Regions from separate parts of the Homo sapiens genome. Here region 1 is linked to region 2. The links are contacts of gene promoters, found by promoter capture Hi-C in blood cells and fetal thymus (Javierre and others, 2016). All regions are on one chromosome and are shown on one strand. Each heading gives the region's core, a stretch centred on a gene start or on the middle of the fragment in contact. The rest is flanking DNA. Distances are from core to core; before and after follow the strand shown.

The links. The method cuts DNA at HindIII sites, captures the fragments that hold promoters and counts their contacts. A CHiCAGO score of 5 or more calls a contact.
Region 1: a fragment that was not itself captured here is called in contact with the fragment with the promoter of LHFPL3 in region 2 in 1 of 17 cell types (endothelial precursors); the score reaches 5.8 in endothelial precursors.

What each region holds. Positions count from the first base shown.
Region 1 is chr7:104,848,749-104,856,277 of GRCh38, reverse strand. All of the region lies in intron 2 of LHFPL3 (LHFPL tetraspan subfamily member 3), which reads right to left. Among named protein-coding and RNA genes, the nearest start is that of LHFPL3-AS1, 48 kb to the right of the region's middle. The HindIII fragment of the contact is 309 bases long and covers 1,273-1,581 here.
Region 2 is chr7:104,326,237-104,332,983 of GRCh38, reverse strand. LHFPL3 (LHFPL tetraspan subfamily member 3) reads right to left here and starts at 4,381. Exons shown (of 3, transcript NM_199000.3): 1 at 3,760-4,381. The coding sequence starts at 4,204. The HindIII fragment of the contact is 14,292 bases long and covers 2,444-6,747 here.

The DNA of each region.
Region 1 (7,529 bases), core at 178-2,677, 530 kb before region 2:
CTCTGTCTCAAAAAAAAAAAAAAAAAAAAAAAAAAAATTTCCTGGGACAGAATCAGGAGATCTGGGCAGAGTGCAGGCATTGGCATTCTAAACCAATCCCCCAGATGGTTCTGATATTATACTTTGAGGCAGCTGACAGGCCTCCTTTGAGAAACTCCCGGGGTTACTGAAGAATGTGACAGATGCTCATCTAAATGCAGGAATCTCTTTATTCTTTTACTATTAGTTTTCCTTCTTTTTCTCACATGGGTAAAAGAATAACAGGACTGAAATTATCTTCAGTCATAGATGGGGTTGGGAGATTCTGGGCCAGGCAAGTTTTGGTGTTGTGCAAGCATGGACACGCTTAAAGGATTTGCTATAAAGATCTGGAGTTAATTTGGCTCATGCCTGTAATCCCAGCACATTGGCAGGCCAAGGCAGGCAGATCACTTGAGGTCAGGAGTTGGAGACCAGCCTGGGCAACAAGGTAAAACCCAGTCTCTATTTTAACTGGTGTGGTGGCGTGCACCTGTAATCCCAGCTACTCGTGAAGCTGAGGCAAGAGAATCACTTGAATCCAGGAGGTGGAGGTTGCAGTGAGCTGAGATTGTGCCACTGCACTCCAGACTGGGTGACAGAGCGAGGCTCCGACTAAAAAAAAAAAAAGAAAGAAAAATCTGGAGTTATTTGGATATCCATATGTCTGAAAAACATCCAGAAGGGTATTCTTTTGGATTGTTAAGCTAGGAGCATATCTGTTTCTCTAGTCTGACATTTCAGGAGGATTGTATTTTCTCCTCTGGATGAAAGGAAGAAATATTCTGCAACACCATTATACATAATTCAAAATCCAAGAGAGCTTAATGTGAAACATAAGAATGTGACTTGCAGTCACACTCCAAGTCCAAAAAGAATGCATCTTGATCAGCATTAAAAGTATATCACTGGAAAATAAATGGTAGGTAGGCCCATCAGTCTGCAGGGGTGATGTCCTGTGTATTTTGATAATGGATTTCTCTAAGGATTTAAGCTCCCCCAGTCTGGGCTCCACACTTAACCTCCAGGTGAGGTCATTGGTCTGTTCCATCATGACACGGTGTCTCACGGTATCGCTCTCCCCTCCTCACTAATCTGTTCTCATAAATGTCTTGAAACGGTCTTAAGATTCAATTATTAATGAGAACCAATTTAACAGGCTGCTGATGCCAGGAATGAAGTTTTTTCAATTTGCAAACCTGGGATAAGCTGATCAAGGAGAATGGTACAATTTCACAGGAAATACATTAAGCTTCCCACGCCAGACTAAAGAGCTTACTGAGGTTCACAAAAGTGCAGAGAAAGGTGTGTTTGGGTGGATACGTTAATAGTCAATGGAGAGTAATTATGAGAAATTATACGCCATTGCAGGCCTCACTTTATATATAGTTTTTTTTTGACCTGGGAGGAAGGGCCAAGGTGCTGTACTCTCTCTTTAAAAAATATCATTTAAAATGTAGCCCTGCACATTTTACTTAGACAAATGGTGCTACAGAAGTGATATTTTCTTAATTTTGCTTTATTCCCTTTTTTTCATACTGAAGCTATGAGAAATTACAAGCTTATTAATTGTCATTTGAGGTGCTAGACTTCAGACCGGAAGGTGATAAATGACCTAAATCATTTGTAATATGCTGGAAGTATGGACAATCTGTGTTGAGTATAAGAAGATACATTGTTGAAGAGAGTCTCTCATAATTAATGAATAGATCTCATATTGCCCTGTGCATATAGGAAGTTACCAGCTAGAGTATGCCATCCTGAAATACATTTCTTCAGTATAAGGATAATTTTGAGCTGATTATTTTGAGAAACTGCAGACACAGGAGAAGCTCTGAAGACAGGGTAGGAGTTCCCTTTTGTAAGGGAAATTCACATCCAGAAAGGAAATCTCCATTCATGAGGGTGAACTTCTGTATTGAGTAAAGAAGGATGACTCTAAGTCAGACTTATCAATGAAGAATGCACTCAAATATGGATAACAAACCTTCCACTTGTTTACCATGCTTTTCCTGGTCACCTCCCTCTAACTGGCCCTTGCAATACCCTCCTTTCTTTGTTTCAGCTGAAGATGGTATTTAAGCCTGAACTTAAAGCCACCTCTTTGAAATTTGCTCATGTCTCTGGGTATCTCCTATGTATACGTGAAGTTATGTTCTTAAACTTCTGTTTGTTTTTATCTTGTTAACCTGTCTTTTATTACAGGGGTTCATCCTAGCTAAGAACTCAAAAGGGTAAAAGGAGAATTGTTTTTCCTCCCCTGTGATGCTTGTCTAAATGCAAGCACCTCTTTGCTTTTTACTTTTAAGTTTCTTCCTTTTTTTCTCTGGTGGGTAAACAGATAATCAGATTGAAATTACCTACAGTCAGAAATTGGGAACTGTTTTCCCCCTACAGGATTAGAATTTCACCTCTAACATTGTATAGAGGCAAAGATGATTATCTCCAAGTCAAGGTGGAACTAGGCTGCAGATAGGACCAGCTACATAATTTGCAGATCCAGTGTTAAATGAAAATTGTTCAAAAAGCAGGAAAAAGTGCCATTAAAGGTACTAAAATACAAACATTTTCCCTTTTTCCTGTGGTCCCTCTCATCTTGTTGTGGGATTTTGAATATATACTTTTAAATGTCATTCTAAGTAAATAAAAATAAATCAAATTAGCACTAATTTACCATTCATTTTTATTTCATGCAATGCCAGTTTAAATGCAAATGTCAGAGCATTTAACTCATCTGTACAATCACTGAAGTCACGCAGTCTGCATTTTTGTCCCTGGAAGGTGCTGTGTGCTGGCCAGAAAAGGCAAAAACAGACATATTCCAGAAGGTTGGAAGGAGGGAGAGAAAGATCCCCCAGGCACAGAGTAGGCTCAAGTGAACTGGCTGAAAGCACTCCCTCTGGCATGGGGGTACTTAGGATCCTCACAGCCTGTCACTCAGGACTGATGGCTTTTTAGATTCTCTCTCCCACCAGCTGCTGGCCCAACTCATTGTCCCCTGACTCGAGGAACCTCCCCTTCTCACTGGTGGTATTCCCAACCCAGGGCAGACAAATGACCCCAAGGGTATTCTAACATCTCTACTAGGTAACTGGATCGAGGTGGGCAATAGGCTTGCTCCTCGTTGAGCTCTGGACTCTGTCCACTGTCCACCAGACACACTGCAGCACTGCCAGTCCTGGGCAGGGACAGACACTGCTATGCCCTGCCCCGAGATGCTTCAGGATGGGTACGTTCAACTATGATCCTCCCCTCTGTGCCCAAACTCCTGCCTCGGGCAGACGGTGGCAGTGGTTACTGGGCAGGCACAGGGAAAGCAGGCTGGTCAGGGCTCAGGGTTTCAGGGTTCAAGAGAGTGGGCTGAGAACCCATCTGCCGGAAGGTGGGGGTGGGACTGGGAAGAGGGTGGAGGGAGGAGGAGGCAGCAGGAAGCTGGCCCCATGAACAGTCTCCATGCCCCCATGCCCCATGCTCCAGTAGCTCACTGTCCCATCAGAGTTCACTTACAAAACACACATTCAAAGATACGACTATTAACAATGTCAAGACTGGGGCTGCAGAGCTTTAAACCAAAAGCATGGGAGCCCTTGTGAGCTTGGGTCCCTGTGGGACTGCACTGGTCATGTGGCCCTTGTGTAGGAGCAAAGAACATGGAGCTGGCCCTGGGGGCAGGAGCAAAGGACAGGTAAGTGAGATAAAAGTCAGAGCTTCCTGCCAGCATGGCCAGCCTGGCCTATTCCCAACTCCCAAACAGGATTCTTCCTAACCAACCAGGACAGCTCTGTGAAGACTGGCTTTGCTCTCTGGACAAAAGCCTTCTCTTCTCTTTACTACTGCCCTACTTTCAGCATGGCCCTCCTCCTCCACCTCCCTTTCCTGCCTAGTGTCCTGATCCCCACTGCTGGGGGCAGCAGGCTGCACATTTCTGGACACTGAGTAAGTTTAAAATTCAAATCATTTGTGGCTTCTCTTTGGATTTTCCTTTGCTGCTCTGCCCTTTCTTGTTTCCCTTCTCTCTCTGTGTCTGAGAGAGGGGAGATCTGCCTTTTAATTATGTCTTACAGTTAATTAAGGTGGCATTCCCTGACTGGTAGGATGCACATGGCTTCAGCAGTTAATGCTGGTGAGGCTCTTTGAGCTCTTTGGGGTGTGTGTGAGGGTTGGGGGGTATCTGCTTTCCAGGATGTGGGCAGCCTAAGAAAAATGAGAGGGAGAGGGAAAAAAGTTGGTGGAAGTAACAGAAGCATGGAAAAGGTGGGAAAAGGAATGTGGGTAAATGGATAAGGAAAGGAGACAGAAGGGAGGAGGAAGGAATGATGGAAGGACCCAGCTTTTCTCCTGCTCTGCCCACGTGGTTTGAAAATAGAGGCTTGAGCCTGAGAAAGCTACGGCCCAAGCAGATGGTATCTTTGCAGTGCTGGTGCCTGGGCAATGTGGATCTTAGGTCACGGGTGACAAGGAGCTTCAGCGCCAAGTCTCTTACTTTGCTCTTGTCAAATTCTTGAAAATGTGACTCTGTATCTTTAGTTCTCTTGGGGTACATCCAAAGAAATCAGTACCCCATGAAGGATTAGATAGGGGAGATAAGTGATACAGAAGAAGAATCTCTTCTGGAGCTCCCAGTAGGCCCAGAGCTGTGTTGAGGAGAGTTGGGACTTTATATTCACAACAATCTTCACAAATATGAACTTAATTTTTCCAGGGTGACCAATGCGTTGGCCGTATAAGCCAAGTATACTCATAACCTCAGATTTTGAAAGCCATTTTTTTCCCTAGCAGTTTCATAATCAGCTATCCTCTTGAGTCCTATTGGGAAAGCATCACTAAATCTCCAACTCTCCAAGAAGGAAGGGGCAACTTGCTCTCTGATGGACTCACAGCCTAGAGATACCTCATGGCTTCTTGGTTGAGCCCAGCCAACCAGCCCAGAGACTCAGACTCCCAAGATGTATCCCCATGCTCAGAAAACACCCAGCCACAGGCTTCCTGTTCTTTCTTTTCTCTCACTAATTCATATTTCTTTCCAGAGAAATATTTCTTTTTTGAGTTATGATGCAGATACTACTGAGATGTTCCTTACAAGGGGAGCAAAAACTAATGTGTCAAAGTAAACATTACAATCCCATCTGAAGACTTGGAACACTATGATATACTTGCTGAGATCTCTTTCATGACTGGCAAGACATGAGAACAATATTTATCTCTAAGAGAAGGTAAAATTACTAGCAAAGGTGGTGCTATTCCTTCTAGAGCAGAATCTGTCAAAGTGGTGGCCTGTGGGTCTCCCACATCAGAAGTACCTGGAATGATGGTCAAAAAGCAGATTTATGCACGCCACTGCAGAACTTCTAAATCTCTGTGGGTGAGGGGTCAGAACCTACATTTTAAATACTGAGAGTTTTACTCTTCTATCTATAGTCATTTGAGAATCAGTGTTTGGAGCAGTGGCTCTCAAACCTTGGCGGGGGTGGGGGGGTATCTCAGAATCACCCAGAGGGCTTATGGAATACAGATTCCTGGGGCTCACCTCCACAGTTTCTGATTTAGCAGGTCTGGGGTTTGAAAACTTGCGTTTCTAATAAGTTTCTGGGCAATGCTGCTGGTCTGGAGACTACATTTTGAGAACCACTAGTTTGGAACAATTAAAACAATTTAGTTTCATGTCAGTCAGGTGTAACCTACTTCCTGTCCTGGGGAAGCCCTCTGCATCAGGGTGTTGGAGGTAGTGGTGGTGCTGGGCTTGTTTTCTGTCTGTCTAGGAGGTGGATGTCTGGGGAAGCAGTTGTTGGGGCTCAGAAAACAACACCCAAAATGAAGCCCTCAGAAGCAGGCTCAGAAGCAAAAGATCTTCTCTGACCTTCTCTTGCTCTCCTGTCTCCCAGTCCCATTCTCCCCCAAGGCTAGCCTTAGAAACGATAACGGCAAAAACCGCAATTACTTTTATTTATTTATTTTTTGTGACGGAGTTTCACTCTTGTTGCCCAGGCTGGAGTGCAATGGTGTGATCTCGGCTCACCGCAACCTCTGCCTCCCAGGTTCAAGTGATTCTCCTGCCTCAGCCTCCTGAGTAGCTGGGATTACAGGCATGTGCCACCACGCCTGGCTAATTTTGTATTTTTAGTAGAGACGGGGCTTCTCCATGTTGGTCAGGCTGGTCACGAACTCCCAACCTCAAGTGATCCGCCCACCTTGGCCTCCCAAACTGCTGGGATTACAGGCGTGAGCCACCGCGCCCGGCCTAAAAAAACCACAATTACTTTTGCACGAACCTAATAGAATTCCTCTTCCCCAAGGCTGGTCACAGAAACCAGAACCCTTTTTTTCCAAAGCCAGCCATAACATCTAAATATATTACTCTAACTTTCCCTCTGCTCTATCTGTATAAAAACTGGCCATAAAGGAATTTTCTGATCCACCTTGTTTGACTATGGGCCATAAGGCCCCCATTCCAGGGAGAGTCCTGCCCCACATCCAGAAGGAAGGAATGCTGGCTCAGAGAGGCCAAGAAGAATCTAGACAGAGAGGCCCTGCTGGGTTTCCCCACTCAGTCTATTAGCAGTAGATCCTAACCTTTTTGTCCAATCACATTTCTATATGGCTGTCCCTACTTTGTTGAACCTCTGCATAAAAATGGGCAATTTCTCCTGAATCTTTGGATCTTCATTCTGAAGGCTCCCAGGTATACATGTTAAATAAATTTATATGCCTTTTCTCTTATTAATTAATCTGCCGCATGTCACTGACTTTTCAGTGAACCTTAAGTGGGCCAAGGGCCTTGGCCCCCACACAGTGCAGGGCCACCCAGCCCCCAGGAGCCAGGCTGGTCTGTGCAGGGCCCTGAGGGAGCAAATTAATGTGTGTCTCTGTCAGATGGCTAGGCTCTGTTGGCTGGTTCTTCAGACTCTCGGGAGCTCAGTTAGTTTTGGGGTTTCCTCTATGGCAAGACATGAAGGCCTGGCCAAATCTAGAGCTTCTAGTAGTTCTCAGAACTAAGCTGGAGTAACTAGAAGCAGAAAAGAAGGCAGAGTTGGCTGGGCACAGTGGCTCACACCTGTAATCCCAGAACTTCCGGAGGCCGAAGTGGGTGGATGGCTTGAGCCCAGGAGTTCAAGACCAGCCTGGGCAACACAGTGAAACCCCAACTCTACTAAAAGTACAAAAATTAGCCGGGTGTGGTAGCACATGCCTGTAGTCCCAGCTACTTGGGTGGGAGGCTGAGGTGGGAGGATTGCTTGACTCCAGAGGTGGAAGTTGCAGTGAGTTGAGATCACGCCACTGCACTCCAGCCTGGCAATCTGACAAACCGGGTGACAGAGTGAGATTTTGTCTACAACAACAACAACAACAACAAAAAAAAAACCAAAAAAACAAAAAAAGGCAGAGTTCTCATCATCACCATGGCTAACTAGGAAGCCAGCTTGGCATATTCGCATGCTGATATGCCACCAGGCCTCCAGGCTGATATTTTAGGATCTCAGGCCATAGATGTGCCCCTTCTTCTGAAATATTTA
Region 2 (6,747 bases), core at 3,132-5,631:
CAGAGAAATCACACAGAAAGCCTCTTTTTTTTTTTTTCCTTCTGAAGAAATTGCCTTTCTACAGATTTAGGAAAGTTTTATATCTCTTATTATCATTATTTTATGTATTATTTTTATGTCTCCAGTTTTTATATAAGACATGGTCTGTACATACAGGATGACATCCAAAGATAGTATGATATATTAGCTCCTAATTCTGTGCTTCCTAGTTTCATGCTACTGTGTTTGATAAAGACTTAGAGTGAGGAGGGAGAGGATAAGGTGTTCATAACGGCACGAAAATTAAATGTGCTTCACACACCTAGATGAACGAGCAACATCATTTTCAGGTCCAATAAATAAATTAATTTTTCTGGTTCATCGTTCAGAATCATAAAAATAATAATTTTTTATATTGTAATATCATAAGAAGTCTGTTTCATCATCTTAATGTATCACTTGAAATAGGATTTTGGCTGGGTGCAGTGGCTCACGCCTGTAATCCCAGCACTTTGGGAGGCCATGGCAGTCGGATTGCTTGAGGTGAGGAGTTCCAGACCAGCCTGGCCAACATGGTGAAACCTTGTCTCTATTAAAAATACAAAAAATTAGCCTGGTGTGGTGGCACACGCCTGTAGCCCTAGCTACTCAAGAGGCTGAAACAGGAGAATCACTTGAACTCAGGAGGTAGAGGTTTCAGTGAGCCGAGATCACACCACTGCACTCCAGCCTGGGTGACAGAGCGAGACTCCATCTCAAAAAAAAAAAAAAAAAAAAAAAAGAAAAGAAATAGGATTTTATATTCTACCTGACTACATATAGGATGTTAGTATATTAAAAAGGCTTAGATAACTAAATACACAAGCGAATAGTTTGATTTCCAATGAGGGATAGTCTCTAATAAGCAAATAGTACACTAAGGTCTCATCTTTCATATTTAGCAAATTACACTTGAGATTAGCCTAGGTACTGGTAAACAAATAGGTAGGAGAAGACTACTTAACATTAAAGAGGAATAGTCTAAAGTCTAAACTTTCTTTTTCTTTTTTTTTTTTGAGATGGGGTCTCGCTCTGTTTCCCAGACTAGAGTGCACTGGTGCAATCTCGGCTCACTGCAGCTTCCGCCTCCCAAGCTCAAGAGATTCTCCTGCCTCAGCCTCCCAAGTAGCTGGGATTACAGGCACCCACCACCACGCCTGGCTAATTTTTGTATTTTTAGTAGAGATGGAGTTTCACCATGTTGGCCAGGCTGGTTTTGAACTCCTGACCTCAAATGATCCACCTACCTCAGCCTCCCAAAGTGCTGAGATTACAGGCATGAGCCACTGCGCCCGGCCTAGACTAAACTTTCAAAGTAACTTACAATAGTTTATATTAAATTTTTTGTTAGTATAATGAGACTTAATTTTTTTAGAAAAATCCTGAAAACCATGTTAAATGTAACATTGTTTAGAAATATCTTCTATGTTATTCCTTAAAAATCTGTGAATGAGTGACAGATCCTTATTTGACCTGTCATCAGAATCAATTTTTCTTTTATTAATATACTTCACTAATGAACAAAATCATGTACTATAGTTTACCTAGAAATAAAATGCCAAATAATTGCAAATAAAGGTTTTAAAAAGTATGTCACTTAAGGATCCGGACTTCTCCAAAATGAAGTAAATGTCCTTACATCTTTAGTACAAAAACTATCCCCACATTTTACATGACGTGGAAAACAGGATAAACATTGATGTCAAATGCCTGAGAACAACATTATATTTCACTGCTCCAGGACAGACAATTTTTCTGTGCTCTATTCCAGAAAGAGAAAAGGAGAAAAACGAAACAAAACAAAAAAACCTTGTAATGGTTGCAGTTTGTATTAACTTCAAAGCTGGTATTTCTTTCTCAAAGATCATTTTCTTTTTGTCTTTCAAAAAGCGGGGGGTTAGAGTAGGAAACCTCATAAAAATCAAACATTGAAGAATACGTTGTTGAGAAAGCACCTGCAAAGTATTTTCAGACCTTTTAAAAACGATGTAATTTGAATCACCTGTCTAAATAGGTCATTTAACTTAGAAAAATTAAAATTAGCTGTGCAGGGTCAATTCTTTTTCTACAGCATCTGCATGTGTGTGTCCTCTTCAAAGTCAAACCAGAGCTAAGTGTCAAGAACAGCCATAATACATGAATTTATTCCAAATCTTAGTTATTCTGCTTGAAATGGCCATAAAAGTTAACTTTATATATAAAAACATAGAGTGAGGAATTGCTAGAAAAAGTTGGGGATGGGGGTGCAGAAGGAGACGCAGAACTCCCCGTTCAGGAGATAATGGTATGTGTAAAGGAGGGAGTCTCTACTGCTGCTCATTTCTTGCTTTTCACATACACACTTTTACAATATATGGCAAATCAATATCAGGCGAGCCAAAACACAAAATAAATACTTTCACACAAGTGTAGTCTCCCACAAGCTTCTCTTTCCTTATCAAACTAGCAATATAGGACTATGAACCTTAACGCTATTGTCCAGCACCTTTAAGTATCTACTCATCCTACAACACTCTGTCAGGGATTGAATCCCTCTCCCCAGAAAACCTTCCCAGGAATAGAATAAACGACAAAATCTTGAAACATCTTAAAAATGAGAACAGTAAAAGAAAACGCAAATGAAAACTTTAGCTGCCTAAGATATTCAGTGCCCTTCTACAACCAGACCATCCATAAAATCAAAAGGACCTCAACAATGTTGGAACAGAAATGTGTCACGACCACTGGACCCTTGACTTTAGAAGGGAGGGCATCCAAGCTGGCTGGCAGAGAGGCAATCGCCATCAGGGGAAGTACAGCAAGGAGTCAGTTTTGTTTCAGGACTCTTCAAAGTCACCAGGAAATGTACCCCATCCTTTCTGGGTTAAAAGTAACTTTGATGCACAGAAAAAAAGTACTTTCATATCCTCCAGCTAGCAACAATTTATCATCCACAGGGAAAGAGTGATCGGAGATGCTAATGAAACATTCTCCTCTCTGCCTACTTCCCCAAAGCCACTTCCCAAAAATGAGATCTTGAGGAATCTTGATTTACTAAAGACTTCTGTTTAAAGATGAAATGGAAGGAACTTTGCACGGACAAGGAGGCAAACTGAAGACTTGACATTGAGGAATTGCGAAAGAATGTTCTAAGCTACATTCTTCTTACAAGGGGAAACCCAAAACAGAATTAAGATCTCTTCACCTCCGGATGGAGGAGTAAACATATTTAACTGCCCGGGATGGAAAGAAACAGTATCACTCCAGCCACCGCCCCCCGCCCCCTTTCCCAGGATCAATGACAGAAATAGTCCCAGCAGCGAGGGGCAGGGCAGGCTGGCTGCTCCTTCCACTATGACCTCTCCAAATCCGCTTTTCACTTCGCCCTGTCAGTCCCTCCTTAGTCCCTCAGCACGGAACCCCGGCCCCATCTCTCTAAGCGGCCACTTCTCCACCCACCATCCTTAGTTCTGAGCGGACTCGGCCCCACAACCGCCCTGCCTCCGGGGCGTCCCTCTGAGTGGGCGTCCCCCACACTTGGGAGGCTCACGAAAGCCCCGGGACGAGGCGCCAGCGCCGGGGCTGGGGAACCCCGGGGGTTCCGGCCTCGCTGGGCTCCCGCCCCCCACACCTCGACGCCTGAGCGGATTAGGCGGCTTGGCTCGCAGCGGCGCGCACAGCCCCCGTCCCTCCCACTCTGGCCCCTCCCCGGCTCGGGCGCCCCGGGGTCCTCCGCCTCCGCGGAGGTGAGCGCGCACTCACCGGAGGTGAGCTGCATCCAGGCACATATCTTGTACACAGTGGCCGTGTTGCAGAAGAAGAAGAGGGTAAAGCAAATGATGCAGGCAATGATGAGCATCATGGAGAGGCCGATAAAGAAGGAGGCGGCTTTGAAGGCGCCCGAGGGCAGCGTGGAGAAGTCCGTGAAGCTGCCCCTGCAGGTCAGCTCCCGGGAGAAGCCGTTGCCGATGCAGTAGTGGAAGAGCCCGAAATAGCCGGCTTGCGGGGTGTCCACGCCGTCGCCTATCCAGTAGGGCTGGATGAAGCACACCACGTTGACGATGGCAAAGCAGATGGTGAAGATGGCCCACAGCACGCCGATGGCCCGCGAGTTCCGCACATAGTTGGTGTGGTACAGCTTGGCAGCCTCCTGAGCCGGGAGCATCGCGGCGGCGGCGGCGGCGGCAGCGGCGGCGGCTCCGGGCATTCTCCCCCTCCTCCTCCTCCTCCTCCTCCTCCTGGTCCTCCGCCTCCCCCCGCCTCTCAGCGCGCAGGAGACACACTCACGGAGCCTCGCGCGCTGCAACTCCCCTGCCTCCGCCTCAGCCCAGCAGCACCAGTTTCAGAGTCTGCATCCTCGCTCCCGGAAGGAGGGCGGGGGAGCGCGGAGCACCCCTCCGGCTCGCCTGGCACAGCCTCCCGGCTCCCCTCCCTCCCTCCTGGCCCGGGCTCCGGCCCTCCTCACCACCCTCCACCCCTCTTCCCGCCGCCGCCGCTGCAGCTGCTGCAGCTGAAGGCGGCAAATCCCTCGTGGAGCACCGCGGCGCGCAAGCCCGGGGCGCCTCCCGCTCTGCTTCCCGCCTCCCTCCCCGCTGCCCGGCCCGCGCTGCCAGTGCCCAGGGGCGCAGAGGACAGTGACGACCCCGGAACGCCCATCAAGGGGTGGACATGAGCCAGAGAAGTGGGCCTGGATTAGGAGGGCGAGGGTAGTCTAAGAAGGTGGCAGGAGCACCCACAGGGATCCTAGAGACAACCCCAGGATCCTGGTGGGTGTGAGAGGCCGGGCTCGAGAGGCTGATTCAGCGAGCATTTCATCACCGCACAGAAACGTGCTTCGACCTCTGCATCTTTGCAGAGGCACGAGGGGCAGCGCGGCAATTGCAGGCAAGAGGCGCCAAGGCAGTGGAGGCATACAGCCCCCAAGAGTCTTTCTTGTTACCACAGAACTGCCCCTGGCTAACTCCTCGGTTGCCTTCAGGTCCACAGGTGGAGATAGAAGTTGCGCAGGAGCCTGGCAGACAATAATGTAAAAGACAAATCTCAAGGGTGGTCTCACATCAAGCACAGCTGAGCTTGCGTCCTCTTTGCGTTTTTCCCCCAAGCAGCCAGCTGAACTGTAGCCAATGGATGCCCCATACTTTCCTTTAGGTCGTTTCCCCGATAATTCCTTCCATAGATTGGGCCTGTGTGTGCTTGGAAGGGACTGTGTCACAGAATTTTATAGTTTGTTTGAAAACAGGGTAGTTCGGCCAGTGTTACACTTACTATACAAATATTGACAGCTACTCTGTGCCCAGACGCTGAGCTGGGTGGTAAGGGTACAAAAAGACATAGCAGATGGTTAATTGTCCAGGAACTTCCATCTCCCCCTACAACCCAAAGCTAACCAGAGAGCTGTTTTCAGGCTAATTTATCCCGGAATTACCACTATAGAATTCCTTACATTTTCACATGGCATTGCTGTTGTACACCTGCCCTTCGTGCTGTTTCCTTAGCTTATGTTTTCCCTTTTAACAGTCTTTCTGTTGCTCTTTTAACAGTTTCTACTTTTCAAACTGCATTTCCCTATTTCCGTTGGTTTTTTTGTTTGTTTCCTTCTGATTCTGATATAAAGAAACATGTAACTGCCTCCCACCCCCAGCCATGAAACCAGAATGCTTAATTGTAGGAGTGGATTTTGGTAACAAATCGTTTTGAACCATATGATCACAGAATTTTCTGAGCATTTCTATCAGAGAGAATTCTGATAGAATTGGACCCTAAGTCTTACCTAATTGGCTATATCAACGGCTATTCTATGGTAGAAGGGTCATAACCTAAGTGATGAAAATTATGCTTTTCATTTGATAGTCTGAAGATTTGAGATTCTATGAAGAGGGAGGGGGAGAAAGTGGAATAGGGGTGTGAGACACATAAGATAATGAAGGGGCTGCTGCTGAAACTGGGGAAAGCATCTAAAAGCATGAGTTTTCAGAATCTTCCATTCAGTTTTTTCTATAGGCATGTAATTCATGTATTGTAATACATGTCCATCAGACAAGGTCCATCTTATACAAGGTCCATTGTAATACAAGGTCCATCAGACAGAGCTTTGAAAATCAAGAGAACAGAATTAAACAGTAGCATGAGACATGTAAGATTAAGTGAGTAAGAATTTCTAGCAAGTGTGGTTGTAGACTCTCAGAAGGTCTTCAAAATAAATATCAGAGGGATTTGGAGGAGGTGACAAAGATGACCAAAATATGAGTTAGCCCAATATAACACTTGCAAGTCTCTAAAAATACAGTTCATGATGATGCATCTTGAGTGCATTGGTGGCAGTGGAGGGTCAGAATTTCTGTTAGGTTTCATTTGTTTTAACTCTCCTGAAGTTGCTGGTAAATCAGAAGAATTTTAACATGGAAAGAGAAAAAGGAAAGGAGAATAATCAGATTTATGAGGCCATTTGGCAGGCCATGCGTCCCAGGGGCAGAGATAGCTTTACAGCAAGAACTGACAGTAATTTCTAGTAACTCTCTTAAGCCCTCAAATCCCCCAAACCTGGTTGTATGAAGTAGTCTCTCTTTAAAATAAATGCCTGAAAGAAATCTTACTGTTTCCATGGGGTGGTTGAGATGTGAGGTGGCTGAGAAGGGAAGGCTGAGAATCAAAAAGCCTGGTTTATACCTCAATGCTTGAATTGCCTTTATGGGACAAAGAAAAGACTGGTGGGTGACTCAGATTCAAATGTGATTCAAAGAGCTTTTCTAC